Regions from separate parts of the Homo sapiens genome. Here region 1 is linked to region 2. Evidence: promoter capture Hi-C in 16 types of primary human blood cells and fetal thymus (Javierre and others, 2016). All regions are on one chromosome and are shown on one strand. Each heading gives the region's core, a stretch centred on a gene start or on the middle of the fragment in contact. The rest is flanking DNA. Distances are from core to core; before and after follow the strand shown.

What was found. The method cuts DNA at HindIII sites, captures the fragments that hold promoters and counts their contacts. A CHiCAGO score of 5 or more calls a contact.
Region 1: a contact is called between a fragment that was not itself captured here and the fragment with the promoter of CTLA4 in region 2, in 1 of 17 cell types (M0 macrophages). The highest score is 6.0, in M0 macrophages.

The regions. Positions count from the first base shown.
Region 1 is chr2:205,896,425-205,901,922 of GRCh38, reverse strand. It overlaps the pseudogene RN7SKP178. Among named protein-coding and RNA genes, the nearest start is that of INO80D-AS1, 190 kb to the left of the region's middle. The HindIII fragment of the contact is 2,608 bases long and covers 1,026-3,633 here.
Region 2 is chr2:203,863,125-203,869,057 of GRCh38, reverse strand. It overlaps CTLA4 (cytotoxic T-lymphocyte associated protein 4), which reads right to left and starts at 1,287. Exons shown (of 4, transcript NM_005214.5): 1 at 1,007-1,287. The coding sequence starts at 1,115. The HindIII fragment of the contact is 240 bases long and covers 1,181-1,420 here.

The DNA of each region.
Region 1 (5,498 bases), core at 1,080-3,579, 2.0 Mb before region 2:
CATTGAAATGGCCCTCCCGGATGTCATCCTCTGACCTGAGGGCTGAGCCACACAAGGCAGTTTAGCAGTAATTGGTAGTTTCTCTAGATGTGTTAAATGGAAGGGTGGGCAGCTAAACCCTGTCGCCAAGACTGGGTCTTAAAGCAGGCAGGCGGGCCTTGAGAGATGCTGTCAAGACTATTATACTGGCTGGGCATCACGGGTTCATTGCCAACTGCAAGAACATCACTCAGCTAAGCATATTTGTTTCTTGAAGCGGAAGCACACTGTTTTAGCCCTGAAATTGCATTAAAGATTCTTTTCAAGTTATGAAGAGGAAAAGGGAAAAGAAACATACTGCCAAAACATGCAGAGATTCTCAGCAGAGCCAATATATATTCTGTGTTAGTCAGGATGGGCTAGGCTTTTCTGCAGTAACAAATCTCCAAATCTTAGGGGCTGCATACTGCCTATTTCTCATTCATGTTACAGTCTGGCATAATTTGAGTGGCTTTCCTTGGTGGACTCCTTCACTCAGTGACTCAGGGATCAAAGCTCCTTCAATCTTACATTCCTACCATCTTAAACATATGGACTTCAAGTTGGTCACTGAAGAGAAAGAACTGGAGGATCACATAGTTTTGTTTGTTTGTGTGTGTGTTTTTAAGAAAAGTGGCTGGGTGTGGTGGCTTATGCCTGCAATCCTAGCAATTTGGGAGGCCAAGGTGGGTGAATTGCCTGAGCTCAGGAGTTTGAGACCAGCCTGGGCAACACGGTGAAACTCCGTCTCTACTAAAATACAAAAAATTAGCCAGGTATGGCAGCGGGTGCCTATAATCCCAGCTACTTGGGAGGCTGAGGCAGGAGAATCGCTTGAACCTGGGAGGCGGAGGTTGCAGTGAGTCGAGATCGTGCCACTGTACTCCGGCCTGGGTGACAGAGCAAGACTCTGTCTCAAAACAAACAAACAAACAAACAAACAAAAAACAAAAAACATACTGCCACATGCAGCACCTCATTTGGATGTGTCTGGAGCCTTGGAAGCTTCACTACCCAACATTTTCCTGCAAATGGACCTTGAGAGCTTGTTTGGAGGTTCTAGCAAGGGAATGCAGCTACTTATATACCCTTGACCAAATATTGGCCTTCTACTGGGGAAGGTTGTCTTCTTCAACCAAGCATGCAGCTTCAGGAGGGATGAACATGGAGTGGTGAGGCTCAGGAGGGCATACCCACCTAGCCAGCCAGATCAGCCGAATCAACCCTGGTGATCAGTGGGGTGACAGATGTTGCAGCCAGACCACCGTCACATCCTTGCATGGGTTGTTTTTTGTTTTTGTTTTTTTTGAGACGGAGTCTTGCTCTGTCACCCAGGCTGGAGTGCAGTGGCGTGATCTTGGCTCACTGCAAGCTCCACCTCCAGGGTTCACGCCATTCTCCTGCCTTAGCCTCCTGAGTAGCTGGGACTATAGGTGCCCGCCACCATGCCTAGCTAATTTTTTGTATTTTTAGTATAGACAGGGTTTCACCATGTTAGCCAGGATGGTCTCGATCTCCTGATCTCGTGATCCGCCCACCTCGGCCTCCCAAAGTGCTGGGATTACAGGTGTGAGCCACTGCGCCTGGCCCTCGCCTGGGTTGTTTTTAAGGGTCAGGCCTGAAAATGACTTTAGTAACTTCTGTTCATATTCTACTGGGCAGAAGTAGCACCCTGTTTCTAATTTAGCTGTGAATGAGATGGCTTAAATGACAGGGGAGCCTGGGACATGTCATCTTTCTGTGTGCCTGAGACAAGATGGTGGACACACAGCATTGTCTCTGCAACCATCTTCTAGAGGGGAAACAAGCTCTGGTAGGGCAGATGGTGTAGAAGATGCTGCTGAAGCCCTGCCCTTTTCCCTTTGGCCCACCTCTGAGTTCACTTGCAGCTGCAAAGGCCACTCTTGTGCATGCTCACAGCTGCCTACCACAGACGCCCTCATCTCTCTGCTTCTATACCTGAGGGATCTGTCAGCCAGAGCACAGGGCAGACCAGAGACGCCTAGAATATAATTCCCCCAGAGGTGGTCCCCAGCCTGTGAGGGTTAGGAATTGGTGGATAAGTATTGCAGCTTCCTTGGCCCTCCTGGGGAAAGTTCTGAGGTGTACTCTACAGTTCTTTAGTGGGGCCAGGCCAGAGTCTCCCATCGTGGCAGCCTCCTCACCAGCTTACCAACTCACCCTTCATTGTTTGCTTCTCCCTTCTGGATTTCACTTTCCCTTCTCATTCTCTTGCCTTTCCAGGATCTTTCCCAATAACCTATTGACTCTCAGGTCCTTGTCTCAGAGTCTGCTTCCAGGAGAATCCAAACCAGGAACTGATGCGGAATGCTTAGAAGCAGCTAAAAGAGTAATCCCATGGGAGGGTGTATTAGTCTGTTTTCACGCTGCTGATGAAGACATACCCGAGACTGGGTAATTTAAAAAGAAAAAGAGGCTTAATGGACTCACAGTTCCACGTGCCTGGGAAGACATCACAATCATGATGGAAGGTGAAAGGCACGTCTTACATGGCAGCAGTCAAGAGAGGAAATCAGAACCAAACAAAAGGGGTTTCCCCTTATAAAACTATCAGATCTCGTGAGACTTATTCACTACCACGAGAACAGTATGGAGGAAACCACCCCCACAATTCAATTATCTCCAACTGGGTCCCTCCCATAACACATGGGAATTATGGGAGCTACAATTCAAGATGAGATTTGGGTGGGGACACAGCAAAATGATATCAGACAGAAAGGCCGGTGAGTGGATTCATAGGCATCTCTCCTCATTTTCTTTTTCTTTGCCATGAAAGGAAGATATTCCAGGGAAGAGGGATTTGAGTGGGAAGTCTGGGAAATTTTCTCAGCAGGAATGATGCAGTATGCATGGAAACAAAGTATTAGCTGCAGATATGACATGATTAATGGCTTCTGATGCCTGGAAAGTGGTGGGGATGTGTGTGGTTTGATAAGTGCTGCTTATCTAGAATACAATTCTGTGACTTTTCCAAAATGCAAACTGCCTTAGTCATTTGGGCTACTATAACAACATACCTTAGACTAGGTAATTTATAAACAATGGAATTTATTGCTCACAGTTCTGGAGGCTGGGAAGTCTACAATCAAGGCATTCAGCAGTTTTTTTGGTGTCTGGTGAGAGCCTGTTCCTCGTAGATGGCACCTTCTTGCTTTATGCTCACGTGGTGAAAGAGGAAGGCAACTCTCTGGGGCTTCTTTCATAAGGGCACTAATCCCATTCATTAGGGCAGACTCCTCATGACCTAATCACCTCCCAAAGGCTTCACCTTCTAATACCATTACCTTGGTGATTAGGTTTCAATGTATGAATTTTGGGTGAACACAAACATTCAGAGCATAGCACAAACATTTTGCTTAAAATTCTTCACTTAACAAGATGTAAGCAAAACTCTAGATTCCTCAAGGTGGCATACAAAGTCCTTTGTGATTTGATCTGTCTTTCCATGTCCTACTCTTCCAGCATCCGGTCATGCCACCTGCTCTGTACCCAGGCTTCCAAGAAGACCTTCTTCTCCTGTGAGGATGTCTGTAACTCTTTCTTCAAGAAATGATACTTTCAAGAACAAACCCAACTAAGGCCTTTGGTGAAGCTTTCTCCTACTTCCCCAGCCAGATTTTCATTATTTATTCATTCATCGAGTATTTTTAAAATGCCTATAGCATGCCAGGCACTGTTCAATATACTGGGGATAGAGCAGGGAATTAAAAAAAAGACAAAAACACCTACCCTGACGAGTTTCGCAGTATAGTGTGGGGAATTAGAAATAAGCATCTGTCTCTTCTCTGGTCTTTAAGCACCTCACAGACACTGGCCATGTCTGTTCATCTGTTTATTCCCAGCATCTAACAGAGTGCTCAACACATCTGCTTGATGACTACGTTTTGAGCACTAGGAGACGACCACAGAAGAGCTAAGAAGTGATAACAGTTGCATTTAGTGGAGAACAGTATTCACACCTTGTTGTCTAGATTGCCTTGAAATCACGCTCCATATTTTATCTTTTATTTTTTCATTTCTTAGAAAAAACTGTTAATCTATTTAGAGTAATTTTATTGAGGAGTCTTTTTTTTTTTTTTTTTTTTTTTGAGACAGGGTCTCGTCCTGTTGCCCAGGGTGGAGTGCAGTGGTGCAACCACAGCTCACTGCAGCCTTGACCTCCTGGGCTCAAGCAATCCTCCCACATCAGCCTCCTGAGTAGCTGAGAATACAGGTATGTGCCACCCTGCCCTGCTAATTTTTTATTTTTTGTAGAGACTGGGTCCCACTGTGTTGCCCAGATGGGTGTCAAACTTCTGGGCTCAAACAATCCCCCCGCCTTGGCCTCCCAAAGAGCTGGGATTACAGGAATGAAGCATTGCACCTTTAAAAAAAAAAAAAAAGGCCAGGTGCAGTGGCTCAAGCCTGTAATCCCAGCATTTTGGGAGGCCAAGGTGGGCAGATCACGAGGTCAGGAGATTGAGACCATCCTGGCTAACACAGTAAAATCCTGTCTCTACTAAAAATACAAAAAATTAGATGGGCGTGGTGGTGCATGCCTATAGTCCCAGCTACTCAGGAGGCTGAAGCAGGAGAATCACTTGAACCCAGGAGGTGGAGGTTGCAGTGAGCCGAGATTGCGCCATTGTACTCCAGCCTGGGCAACAGAGCAAGACTCCATCTCAAAAAAAAAAAAAGAATAAAAACTATGACATTGCATAACACTGTGAATATATTCAATGCTACTGAATTGTACACTTTAAAGTGGTTAAGATGGTCAATGTTATGTGTATTTTAACTCTAATAGAAAAAAAAGTGAGGCTGCATTTCATTCAACAGAGAGGCACTCACTATGTACCTGGCACTACTCTGGGTTTGTGGGCTATAAAGATGGATAAGTCCCTGTCCTTGGAGGACTCAGACTTAGCAGGAGACAGGCACCTGAGCCACAGAGACAATCAAGAGTTGCTCCCTGTGCCCAGGGAGAACTCTGTTCAGCCCACAGCACCTTAGCCACTAGTGACAGCCACCTGACTTGCAGCATCATGAGTACCTGGATCATCACAGAGGAACCAATCAGTTTTTATATAGGGCTAACTTTGGTGTTTTCAAAAATGTCAAGTAAAACACACAACAGAACATTGATAAGAGCAGGATTCCAAGGTATCGGTTGGACAGTAAACAGAGGGGCCCAGCCAAGCATATTCCCATGCTGCAAAGCCACTTGATATTAACACACATCTTGAAGCAATCAACACTGCCCTGGCAGGCCCTGGCGGATGGCACTTGTGAATATTTAGAAATGGGGCAGCCCTGTTTGGGAAAACTGTCAGATTGACTGTAGGTTAGGAGAGAGGGGGTAGAGACAGTAATAGAATAATCACGTGACCCCTGACATGAGGCAAGGGAGAGGCTCTCACAACCCGCCCTGCATCTCAGAGACTGCCAGCTGCATCCCACTGCTTCTTAGCAACTCAGAT
Region 2 (5,933 bases), core at 38-2,537:
GGAGGGTCCTGTTACTGGTTGAGATAAATTTACTTTAGGAAATTTAAATACTTCTAAGAGTGTTTATTTAATCTTTACATATTTAAAACATGTAAAAATAAGAAAACATATATGAATATTTCTTCTCCAGTAAAAATTAAATCATCAAATATCTTTTGAGTACCTACTTCATACAAACTACATGGTTTCTTAACCAAGAAGGTCTAGAGAGAGATAAGGTTGAGATTCAATGGATATACTCATCATTTTAAGCCGTGTAACAAACCTGGTGTCAGTCTCTGAAGAGCTGAAAACTGAGGATCTGCATCTGAAACCCACACGTAGGTCAGGCAACAATTAAGTATTGTATGCCAAACAGACTGGTGGCTTTCTTTCTTTCCTTTTCCTTGTCTTTTTTTTTTGGCAATTTCAAACTTTTATTTTTAAATAATTGGCTAATTAGCTAGTAGAATTGATTAAGAGAACCTTAAAACCTTGAATTAAGTAAAGAAGGCATTCTTCCCACAATTTCCCTACATTTTAAACAAGCTGGCTAATTCATTTATAAAGTATATGAATCCGAGGACCTTAAAACCTTGAATTGTATAGCAAAAAAACTCTTCCCAGGATTTGCTTAAGTCAATTTTTTTTAAAGGAACTTGTGAGCTCATCCTGAAACCCAGCTCAAATGTATTCAGGACTATGGCTATCCTTTCCCTCTTAAATCACTTCCAGTCTCATAGAAGGGTCTGAAATTGCCTGTGTCTCTCTACTAAACCAACTCACATGCATTCATGAAGCCCCTACTAAATACCTGGCGCTCTGTTCTGAGCTATCTCTTTGCCTTATTTGCTGCCGCCCAACTGCTCCCTGCTGGCCCTGGAATACAGAGCCAGCCAAGCCAGATTGGAGTTTTACCTTTAACTTCTGGCTTTGCTATAAATCACTGCCTTTGACTGCTGAAACAAATGAAACCCAGGTAGGAGAAACACCTCCTCCATCTTCATGCTCCAAAAGTCTCACTCACCTTTGCAGAAGACAGGGATGAAGAGAAGAAAAAACAGGAGAGTGCAGGGCCAGGTCCTGGTAGCCAGGTTCAGCTGAGCCTTGTGCCGCTGAAATCCAAGGCAAGCCATGGCTTTATGGGAGCGGTGTTCAGGTCTTCAGGAAGTAGAGCAAAACCTTTCAGGATCCTGAAGCTTTGAAATGTGTTTGAACCCACACAGAATCAAGGACTTTATATAGATAGCTTTGATCCCAGATATGTATTACACATGTGCACACACAGAAGGCACTTGAATAGAAAGCCTTTTTGTTTTGGTTTTACGAGAAAGGAAGCCGTGGGTTTAGCTGTTACGTCGAAAAGACAACCTCAAGCACTCAACTGAACAAAACAAGCCAATCCATGGATGGAAAATGTATTCAATTTGAAACTGAAGCTTCATGTTCACTTTGAGGATCTGGATAACTAAGTGGAGACTTGGAGAATTTCCTGGAGTACAAGGGTCCTCCTAAATCCCAATTTTATTCAATCTTCTGGGCATCCTTAACCATCCAGTCCAATTCATTTCATTGACAACTCCAAAACTACTAGGCTGCTAACTTTCTGAGCCCTTGGGCTAATGGCAGGATTTGTCTAGGCATCATTAATAAAAACTGTATTCTATCTGTGAAGCACCATCCTTCTAATGGTCCCTTGACAGCTTTACAAATAAGTTTATTTCTCCTAAATCCATTTAGCATTTGGTTAAGAGAAAAAAACTAAAATCACAAGAAATAAACTGAAAATAGGCGGAAAAGAAGCTGCCTCTGGTTTTGCAGAAGGAAAGAATTCAGGTGTTCTTAAAAGCCTTAACTCAACAGAGACAAAACAGAGTTGAAGAAGGTCCAAAGAAAAGCCAACCCAAATGATTCAAGAGATTAGAGCCGTCCATAAAAGGATAGACTTTTTTTTCTAATACAAATTTTTCAAGCAGAAAATTCAAAAGTGAAGATTAAATATAACCAGAGTCCTTAAATTTGTGACAGCTGTAGACAGGACCAATGATCTAACAAAAAGAATTTGAAACATTGAGGACCTTCCTTAAATCTGGAGAGTTTTCATACATTTTAATAAAGAAAGAAACATTCATGGGGAACCTGTAATATGCCCGGAATTCTGTGCACTTAGGATTGAATGATGACAAAACAAAAACATAGTTGATACCTTAAGGGGCTTCTAGAAGGCTGACATGCAAACAGACAGTTGTAACAGGGAATATGACATTTGCCTACTCCAGTCCGTCCATGGTTTCCCATTGTCCACACCTCAGCACAGCAGAGGAGACTCTGCAGAATACTCACCAAATGCCTCCCTCTTTGGCCTGTACCCCAGCATTCCCTCCCATTCCCCCTTCCTGCATTTGTCTTTCCTTCCACGTGCCTCTTTCAGGCCTCATCACCTTTACCCATGCTGTTCCTACTGCCTTTTTTCTCCTATTATCTTATTTTATACTCCTTCTCATCCTCCAGGACTTAGCTCAGCTGTCATCTCCTCCAGGAAGCCTCTTCTTTTTTTTTTTAAAATTTTATTATTATTATACTTTAAGTTTTAGGGTACATGTGCACAACATGCAGATTTGTTACATATGTATACATGTGCCATGTTGGTGTGATGCACAGAAGCCTTTTCTGACCTGCCTGTTTTCTATACACTGCTACACATTATAGAAACCTTCAAGCCCCAGCTCAAGCGCCAACAAGCAATAACAACCTAATGGGCACTTCCTAATGCCAGACTGGGCAACAGAGGTTTTTTAAAAAGTGAAAAACAAATGTTCCTGCCCTCAAGAGGAACACACAGCAGTGGCAGGGACAGACAGCTAAACCCATGATCATGATAGAGTGAGATCAATGCTGGAATTGAAGTATTATGTAGAGGAGCAGAAGCCAGTGGTTCAGCCTGTGGAAGTCAGAAAGGGCTTCTCAGAAGACGAAAAGCCTGAACTTATTATTGAGAACAGAGAAAAGGGTGGATATTCAGACAAGAAGAATAACATGGGCTAAAGTTGGAAACGGCATGAAGAGTTCATTATGGTCACAGGACAAAGCTTGTCTGGGGATGAGCAGAAGGTGCAAGCGGATGCTCTTAGCAGCAAGGGCCAATGAAACATAAGGAGCAAACTGGTATGACTGAGTTCACATTTGGGGGAAATTTTAGGGATGGGGAGGATGGGTTCAGGGAGAAATGTAACCAGGAAGACTGGGAAGAAGACTATTGGAATACGCCAGGCACCAGGATTTGGAAAGCTTTCTGAAGGGGGCAAAATAGTAAATATGTTATGATTTGCAAACGGTGGGGTCTCTGTTGCCACTACTCAACTCTGTCATTTTAGAATGAAAGAAGCCATATATTATATGTAAACAAATGGGTGTGTGTGCATTCCAATAAAACTTCATTTACGAAAATAGGTGAAGTCTGGATTTGGCCTGTGGGCCATGGTTTGCCAACCCCTGGTCTAAACTAAGGTAATGACAGCTGTGAAGACGAGGTCCCTATGGGACTAGTCCACAATCAGTGAGTGGAAGGAGAAGTTTAGAATGAATGACACCAGAATTATGGTTTGAGAAGTACTGTGGTGCTGCAGAAATTATTCAAATGTCAAGTTTTCTTTCTTTTCTTTTTTATTTTTTTGAGACAGAGTTTCACTCTTGTTTCCCAGGTTGGAGTGCAGTGGCGCGATCTCGGCTCACTGCAACCTCTGCCTCCTGGGTTCAAGTGATTCTCCTGCCTCAGCCTCCCAAGTAGCTGGGATTGCAGGCACCCACCACCACGCCCAGCTAATTTTTTGTATTATTTTAGTAGAGATGGGGTTTCGCCATGTTGACCAGGCTAGTCTCAAATTCCTGACCTCAGGTGATCTACCCGCCTCGGCCTCCCAAAGCGCTGGGATTACAGGCGTGAGCCACCGCGCCCAGCAAGTTTTGTTTCTTTCAAGTCCATAACAACCCTACAAGACAAGAGTTACCATTTTTCCCATTTTATAAAGAAGGAAATCAAGGCATTGAAAGTTAAGGTGACTTACCCAATCACCCGTAGGAAGTGGCAGAGCCAGGATTTGAAGCCAGTGATACCTTTATCACTATGCTAAAGCAAAGATTTTGAAGCCCAAGATAACTGGATTTGTATCCTAGCATGGGGACTTGCTTACTGTTGACCTGGGGCTCAAAGCCCAATGTCCTCCAGATAATGGCATCTAATTCTCAAGATTATTGAAAAGATTAAATGAGATAATGCATGTAACATGTATAAAAGGCCTATTGTAACAGATAGCCACTCAATAAATAGGCCTTTCTTATTATAGGGTCAATGAGAAGACAGAGGTGCAATTTACTGGAATAAATAACAGGAAGAGCAGGTGAGAAAGTGAAATGACAGCTTTCATCTGAGTATGTTGAGTTTATGGCATCCATGGAAAATAGTTGCCAATAGGATTCTGGAGCACAGGAAGAGACATTAGTTTAGGCAACTATGAAGCCACTGATGAAAATGTCACAGGCCAAGCCACAAAACGAGCATTCTTTAAACATTTGTTAAATAGGTAGGTAAATGAATGAAGACAGTTTAACATAAGAAGAGATGAGGGTTGTAATTAGAACTTTCAAAGACGTCTTACCAGATTCCTTAATTATGCTCTTATGAAACTAATTCTGTCATAGCAAGAAAATTCAAATGGTTGTAAAAAAAATGCTGGGTAAAAGAATCTTGGTGAGAAAAGATATATTCACATATACCACCCCACAGATTACTTGATAATTACAATAGGGAAAAGATAATTGATAAATCTAGCAGATACTGCTTTAACCAAGTGATCCCAACTGAAGATTACTGTGATGGAGTGTTCTGACATAGGGTACCTCCAGATACAATACACTGAGAAGGACACAACAACTTTGTGTAGTTATTGCCAAAATTGTTTTAACTGAATCTAAGCATGAAGAAATAATCAGACAAATCCATATTCTGCAAAATAACTGGCCTAGATTCTTCAAAAATGTTAACATCACAAAAGATTAAAAAGGGAAAAGCCTGGAAAACCATTCTAGATTAAAGGAGAAAATAGAGACATGATGACAGAATTTAATGTGTTATTATTGATTGAAAAAAATAATACAAAGCAGATTACTGAGAAACTGGGGGAAATTTGAGTATAGCCTATATTTCATAATAGCATTGCCTTAATGTTTAATTTCCTGAATGTGATCATCGTACTGGGGTTATGTAGAGAACCATCCTTGTTTATAGATAATACTTAGGTATTCGAGGTTTAAGTGTCAGAATGTCAGCAAGTACTCTCAGAAGGTTCAGCAAAAATATGTGTCTGTGTTAGCAGAGAAAGATAAAAAGAATTAAACAGCAGTGATGGAATTTTAACAATTGGTGAATCTAGGTGAAGAATATGTGTGTATTCATGGTACTATTCTTACAAATTCTTTGTAAATTTGAGGTTTTTCAAAAAAATTCGAAGTAAAAATTATAAGGCCAACTATTTATATTATTGATAATATGGTAGGCAATAAACGAGGGATGAGCAAACTGAAATTTAGAGAGGAAAAGTGACTTGCCGAAGGTGATTCTCCATCCCCTTTCCTCAGATCCAAGCTCCACCTGGGACAGACCCCTGTAGAAAATGTCTCATTAGTTCCCTGTCAGGGTGGCTTCTGAGGGCTTAGCATTGGAAGTTCCCAGCACATCAGAAAGCACAAGGTGGAAGTCCAGGTCTTTCTTCCCTGCCCTCTCCCAGGTTCAGGGCCATGTGTCTGGTAGTAACAGTACCTCTCCACAAGTACAGCTCTTGTTTGGTGGCCCTTGTTCTATGATGCCCATTCTTACTCTTACCTCCCCTAGGGTAAGAGTAAGAATCTTACCCTAGATTCTTAAAGAATCTTAAAGAATCTTAAAAAAAGAGTAAGAA